Regions from separate parts of the Homo sapiens genome. Here region 1 is linked to region 2. The links are contacts of gene promoters, found by promoter capture Hi-C in human tissues and cell types (Jung and others, 2019). All regions are on one chromosome and are shown on one strand. The core of a region is centred on a gene start or on the middle of the fragment in contact, and the rest is flanking DNA. Distances in the headings are between cores, read along the strand shown. Region 1 has its middle 12 kb from the start of PSMD3-AS1. Region 2 holds the start of MIEN1 (migration and invasion enhancer 1).

Region 1 (3,744 bases), core at 173-2,672, 270 kb after region 2:
CATAAAAGTGCAAAGTGAAGCAGCAAGTGCTGATGGAGAAGCTGCAGTAAGTTATCCATCAGATCTAGCTGATCTCACTGACGAAGGTGGCTACACTCAAAAACAGACTTTCAATGTAGACAAACAGCCTTCTATTGGAAGAAGATGCCACCTGGGACTTTCATAGCTACAGAAGAGAAGTCAATCCCTGGCTTCAAAGCTTCGAAGGACAGGCTGACTCTCGTTAGGGCTAATGCAGCTGGCGACTTTAAGTTGAAGCCAATGCTCATTTACCATTCCGAAAATCCCAGGGCTCTTAAGAATGATGCTAAATCTATTCTGCCTGTGCTCTGTGGATGGAACAACAAAGCCTGGATGACAGCCCATCTGTTCCCAGCATGGTTTACCGAACATTTTAAGCCACTGTTGAGACCAACTCCTTCGTCGGCTCTGTCGGCCAGGCTGGAGTGCCGTGGCATGATCTCAGCTCACTGCAACCTCTGCTTCTAGGTTCAAGCGATTCTCCTGCCTCAGCCTCCTGAGTAGCTGGGATTACAGGCATGAGCCACCGCACTCAGCCAAAAAAAATATTTTTTAAAGTTATTACTGCTGATTGACGATGCACCTGATTACCCAAGGGCTCTGATGGAGGGATACCAGGGAAATAATATTGTTTTCATTCCTGCTAACACATCCATTCTGCAGCCCATGGATGAAGAAGTAATTTCAACTTTCAAGTCTTTTTTAAGAAATACATTTTGTAAGGCTAGAGCTGCCATAGTGATTCCGCTGATGGATCTGGGTAAACTGAAAACTTAGAAAGCATTCATCATTCTAGATGCCATTAAGAATATTCATGATTAGGGCCGGACGTGGTGGCTCATGCCTATAATCCCAGCACTTTGGGAGGCTGAGGCAGGTGGATAAACTGAGGTCAGGAGTTTGAGACCAAGCTGGCCAACATGGTGAAACTCCATCTCCACTAAAAATAAATAAATAAATAAATAAATAAATAAATAAATAAATAAATACAAAACTTAGTCAGGTATGGTGGCACGCACCTGTAGTCCCAGCTACTCGGGAGGCTGAGACATGAGAATCGCTTGAATCCGGGAGGCAGAGGTTGCAGTGAGCCGAGATCGTGCCAATGCACTTCAGCCTGGGTGACAGAGTGAGACTCTCTCAAAAAACAAAAAAAGAATATTCATGATTAGGCCGGGAGTGGTGGCTGACACCTATAATTCCAGCACTTTGGGAGGCTGAGGCAAGAAGATCGCTTGAGCCCAGGAGGCCAAGAGCAGCCTGAATAACAAAGTGAGAACCCATCTGTATTAAAAAAATTTAAAAATTAGGCCGAGTGCAGCGGCTCACACCTGTAACTCCAGCACTTTGGGAGGATGAAGCGGGTGGATCACTTGAGGACAGGAGTTCGAGACCAGCCTGACCAACATGGTGAAACCACATCTCTACTAAAAATACAAAATTAGCCGGGCATGGTGGCGCTTTCCTGTAACCCCAGCTATTTGGGAGGCTGAGGCAGGAGAATCGCTTGAACCCGGGAGGCGGAGGTTGCAGTGAGCCGAGATCATGCCATTGCACTCCAGCCTGGGTGACAAAAGCAAGGCTCCATCTCAAAAAATTAACATTAGCAGGAGTTTGAAAGAAGTTGATTACAACCTTCATGGGTGACTTTGAGGGGCTGAAGACACACTTCAGTGGAGGAAAAAACTGCAGATGTAGAAATAGCAAAAGAACTAGAATTAGAAGTGGACCCTGAGGCCAGGCCCACTGGCTCACACCTGCAATCCCAGCAATTTGGGAGGCCAGGGCAGGAGGATAACTTGAGCTCAGAAGTTCCAAACCAACCTGGGTAACATAGCAAGACCTCGTCTCTACAAAAAAAAAAAAAAAAAAAAAAAAAGTGGAGCCTGAAGATGGGACTGAATTGCTGCCATCTCATGATAACATTTGAACAGATGAGTTGCTTCTATGGATGAGCAAGGAAAGTGGTTTCTTGAGATGGAATCTACTCCCGGTGAAGAGGCTGTGAACATTGCTGAAATGGCAACAAAGATTTAGGATATTACATATACTTAGTTGATAAAGCAGCAGCAGTTTGAGAGGATTGACTCCATTTCTTTCTTTCTTTTTTTTTTTTTTTGAGATGGAGTCTTGCTCTGTCGCCCAGGCTGGAGTGCAGTGCAGTGGCATGATCTTGGCTCACTGCAACCTCCACCTCCTGGGTCCAAGAGGTTCTCCCACCTCAGCCTCCCCAGTAGCTGGGACTACAGGTGCACGCCACCACGCCCAGTTAATTTTTTTCTATTTTTGGAAGAGATGGGGTTTCACCATGTTGGCCAGGCTGGTCTCGAACTCCTGACCTCAGGTGATCCACCCGCCTCAGCCTCCCAAAGTGCTGTGATTACAGGCGTGAGCCACCGCTCCAGGCCAGCATTGACTTCAATTTTGAAAGAAGTTCTACTGTGGGTAGAACGATGTCAAACAGCATCATATGCTATAGAGAAACCTTTCTAGAAATGGAGAGTCGGCCGGGCATGGTGGCTCACACCTGTAATGCCAGCACTTTGGGAGGCCGAGGCGGGCAGATCACCTGAGGTCAGGAGTTCGAGACCAACCTGGCCAACATGGTGAAATCTCGTCCCTACTAAAAATACAAAAATGAGACGGGCATGGTGGTGGGAGCCTGTAATCCCAGCTTCTTGGGAGGCTGAGGCAGGAAAATTGCTTGAATCTGGGAGGCGGAGCTTGCAGTGAGCCGGGATCGTGCCACTGCACTCCAGCCTGGGCAACAGAGGGAGACCCCATCTCAAAACAAAACAAAACAAACAAAAACACAAAAATGAAAAAAGAAAAGTCAATTGATGCAGAAAATTTCATTATTTTCTTATTTTAAGAAATTGTTTTCACCTGAAGGCACTAGGAAAAATAAAAACAAAAATAAGGAAAAAAAAAAGAAATTGCTACAGTCACCCCAAACTTCACCAGCCACCACCCTGATCAGTGAGTGGTCATCAACATGAGGCAAGACCCTTCACTAGCAAAAAGATTAGGACTTGCTGAAGGCACAGATGATTGTTAGCATTTTTAGCAATAAAGGTTTTTTGTTTTGTTTTGTTTTGTTTTTTGAGGCAGAGTCTTGCTCTGTCACCTAGGCTGGAGTGCAATGGTGCATTCTTGGCTCACTGCAACCTCTGCCTCCGGATTCAAGCGATTCTCCTGCCTCAGCCTCCTGAGTAGCTGGGACTATAGGCGCCAGCTACCACACCCGGCTAATTTTTGTACTTTTAGTAGAGACGGGGTTTAACTATGTTGTCCAGGCTGGTCTCGAACTCCTGACCTCAGGTGATCCACCCGTCTCGGCCTCCCAAAGTGCTGGGATTACAGGCACGAGCCACTGCGCCCGGCCAATTATTTTTAAATTAAAGTATGTACATATATATGTTTTTAAATATAATGCTATTGCACACTTAATAGACTACGGTATAGTGTAAACCTAACTTTTTTTTTTTGAGACAGGGTCTCACTCTGTCATCCAGGCTGAAATCAGTGGCACTATCACAGCTCACTGTAGCCTTGACCTCTTCGGGCTCAGGTAGATGATCCTCTCACCTCAGCCTCCCAAGTAACTGGGACTATAGGTGAGTGCCACCACACCCAGCTAATTTTTTATTTTTTTGTAGAGATGGGGTCTTGCAATGTTGCCCAGGCTGGACTTGAACTTCTGGGCTCAAGTGATCCGTCCGC
Region 2 (3,485 bases), core at 665-3,164:
CACACCCACTTTGTCCATTTGCAAATATATTTTGGAAAACAGCTAGGCACCGGCCTATGTCTGGGGGTGGCTCTGTGCCATCCCTTCCTGCTCACCTTACACTCAATTCCTCTTTTCCTGGAGGGAGTGGCTGGGAATCTTCAGAAAGCTTGGATGAGGAGCCAGACATCCAGTTCTCCAGCTTCAGGGTTGGGGGAGATCGGGAAGCTGGATTCAGATCTGAGAGCCCTTTGACGACCAGATCATTCTTATTTAGAACGAACTAATTCCTAAGGCCACTCACCAGAATGGGGTTATTTCCTCCTTGTGAGTGAGGAGAGTGGTGGGTAGGGTGGGGGAAAGACGAGGCAGGGTCTACTGTGGGACTCATTTTCCTTGCCTTGGCTATGCCAGAGGAGCTCACTGACCTAAGGAGTAGCTGTCCAGAAAGCCCACCCAGCCAGCACAGCCACCCTGGCGGTGCAAAGGCTGGGCTGACCGGACTTCTGTGCCCCCCACATTCCCAGACTGGACGTATAAAAACACACACTAGTTAGCATTAGTGTTTGTAGCGCCACTTTACTGCCAATAGCTGACATTGCCCTGGGTTAGGGGAGAATAAATAAAATCTGTGGCATCAGACAGGTATTACCGAGGCGAAGAGTGGACTGGGCTTTCGTGGGCACTTACCCTGGGAAGGGGGTATGAGGTGGCTGGAGAAGTGTTCATGGAGAGTGTCTCTCTCCTGCCCCCAAGGCCACGGAATCTTCTATTCCTTCTTTGTACCCAAAGGGCAAAGTGGAGGCCAGGGTCTCTTTGCTAAGGAGCTAAGTAGGGGAAAGAGGCAGGGGGAGCTCCCAGCAGGACCAAAGGGAGACCAAGGTTTGGACCCCAGAACAGAGCAGGAACCCAGAGTCCTGTGCAGTCACAGGATGACGCAGGGAGGACGGCTGTTGGTGATCTTTTCTAGGGTTTCTCCATTACTGGCTCTTCGGATGGCCTCAATGAGCTAGAGGAGTGGAATGACAGGATGATGCACTGTTGGGGTAGGGTGACCAAGAGGTCCTCCCAACGCTGTAAATACTCACATCTTTCTCATAGGGAAAGCCCCCATTCTCCAGCTTGGAGAACACCAGCTGTCCATTTATCTCTATCTCAAAGGCACCTGGTAAGAAATCAACAGATAAATGGTACACTGAGAACATAGGCAGAAGTCAGGAGTTCCTCCAAAGGGGTCCCCCGCCTTCAAGTCCCCCATCAATCCCACTGGAGACCCATTTGTAGCTCCTTAAGCAATTCCCCAACCCTGGGTCAACTCCAGGGAACCTGAGGGAGGCCTCGCCTGTGTGCCCCTCGCAACACTCAATAAAGGACTCCCTCCCCTCCAACCCTACACGATTGCAGTCTAATAGGTTTTTCCCCACAGGCCTCTGTGACACCCCCTGACCTATGGAAGGGAACTCATGTTGGCCGGACATTTTACCATGTGCCAGGCACTGCGGGCACTTTACATAAAGCAGCCAATGTCAGAACTAGAAAGCGGGAGAGCTGGGATTCAGAGCACAGACTGACCCAGCAGGTGTTCTGCGAGCCTCACCTGTGCCCCCGAGGCGCGACTCGATCTCGATGCCCGGATACTGCTCCTTCACAGCACTGGCCAGCTCCAGGTAGGTCGCCTCGAAGCCGCAGGGTTCACTGGGGAGTCAAGAGATGGGGCTGGGCTGGGGATTCGGGGGTGGGGCCTCCCGTGGACCCACCTCCGTCCGGCCCGCGGGACCAGGGTGCGGGTCCTCCAGCCGGGGCCGCTCACCAGTACTCCACCACGATGCGGACCCCACTGCCCGGCTCGACCTCCTCGGGAGGGGGCGCTACGGACGTCTGCCCCGGCTCCCCGCTCATCGCGGCCGGCTCCGCTCGGGCCCCTGCTTCCGGGTGTGACGCGAACCGCGGGCACGTGACGGGGCGGGGCCTCTGGAGCGGGGAGGGGCCGAGGGTGGCGTTCGGGCGCCCCCTGCGGGTCTCCGCCACTGCTACGTTTTGACCTCGTAGGGCAGCTCCGGAGCTCGCTCCCCGGGCAGGGGCTGGGTCCGGTCCAGACCCTCCTTCCCTGGCCCGGTCTCCCGGAGTGCCGGGCTTCCCCACTCCCCACTCCCGGTGTCCGCTGGACTTCATGGCTTCATTTACTCTAATGGACTATCTTAGACTGCAAAGCGCTTTTCAGTTTACAAAAGAAAGAGAAAGTGGTGGGGCAAGCATCCTGGGGATGGGGGTGGGTGTGGCTGATGCATGAAATAGTTGACATTTTCTCGCTAACATGCCGATGGCATTTTTTTTTTTTTTTTTTTTGAGACGGAGTTTCGCTCTTGTTGCCCAGGCTGGAGTGCAATGGCGCGATCTCGGTTCACTGCAACCTCTGCCTCCCGGGTTCAAGCGATTCTTCTGCCTCAGCTTCCCGAGTAGCTGGGACTACAGGCGCGTGCCACCGCACCCGGTTAATTTTGTATTCTTAGTAGAGACAGGGTTTCATCATGTTGGTCAGGCTGGTCTCGAACTCTTGACCTCAGGTGATCCACCAGCCTCGGCCTCCTAAAGTGCTGGAATTACAGACATGAGCCACCGCGCCTGGCCCAGTTTTTTGTTTGTTTGTTTGTTTGTTTTAGTAGAGACAGGGTTTCACCATGTTCGCCAGACTGGTCTCGAACTCCTGACCTCAAATGATCTGCCTGCCTTGGCCTCCCAAAGTGCTGGGATTACAGGCGTGAGCCACCACGCCCGGTGCTGATGGCATTTGGAACCACCCTGTAGTTACATACACAAGTGTTTCTGATCCCAAAGCTCTAAACTGCTTTTTCCAGTCTTTTGCAGCTGCTTCTTGCCTGCACTGGAAAACAGTAGATGCTCTTCAGGCTCTGTGCCCCCAACAGTTTCTGCGCATCCCTTCTCATCCAGCCTCTCACTGGGGGGCTGGCGTCATTATTCCCATTTTGCAGCTCTGGAAATGGAGTCTGCACAAGTCCTCGCTGCCTTTTCCCTGCCTACAGTACCACTATGGTATCCTAACACGCCACCCACTCTAGTGTCCCTTTAGGCTATTTATTTATTTATTTATTTATTTTGAGATGGAGTCTCACTCTGTCACCCAAGCTTGAGTGCAGTGGCGCGATCTTGGCTCACTGCAACCTCCACCTCCTGGGTTCAGGCGATTCTCCTGCCTCAGTCTCCCTAGTAGCTGAGATCATAGGTGCCAGCCACCACGCCCAGCTAACTTTTGTATTACTATTATTATTATTTTTTTGAGACAGAGTCTTGCTCTGTTGGCCAGGCTGGAGTGCAATGGTGCGATCTCGGCTTACTGCAACCTCTGCCTTCCGGCCTCAAGTGAGTCTCCTGTCTCAGCCTCCTGAGCAGCTGGGATTACAGGTGCCCACCACCAAGCCAGCTAATTTTTCTATTTTTAGTACAGATGGGGTTTCACCATGTTGGCCAGGCTGGTCTCGAACTCCTGA

What was found. Contacts are between HindIII fragments. The study calls those that stand out against the background at their distance.
Region 1: a contact is called between a fragment that was not itself captured here and the fragment with the promoter of MIEN1 in region 2, in 1 of the 25 tissues and cell types used here (lymphoblastoid cells).

What each region holds. Positions count from the first base shown.
Region 1 is chr17:40,000,547-40,004,290 of GRCh38, forward strand. No RefSeq gene overlaps it. Among named protein-coding and RNA genes, the nearest start is that of PSMD3-AS1, 12 kb to the right of the region's middle. The HindIII fragment of the contact is 8,544 bases long and covers 1-3,744 here.
Region 2 is chr17:39,728,618-39,732,102 of GRCh38, forward strand. MIEN1 (migration and invasion enhancer 1) reads right to left here and starts at 1,915. Exons shown (of 4, transcript NM_032339.5): 1 at 1,790-1,915; 2 at 1,577-1,674; 3 at 1,068-1,144; 4 at 1-988. The coding sequence starts at 1,878. The coding sequence ends at 905. It overlaps ERBB2 (erb-b2 receptor tyrosine kinase 2), which reads left to right. Exons shown (of 27, transcript NM_004448.4): 27 at 1-41. RefSeq lists a silencer at 1,597-2,156. The HindIII fragment of the contact is 5,525 bases long and covers 1,636-3,485 here.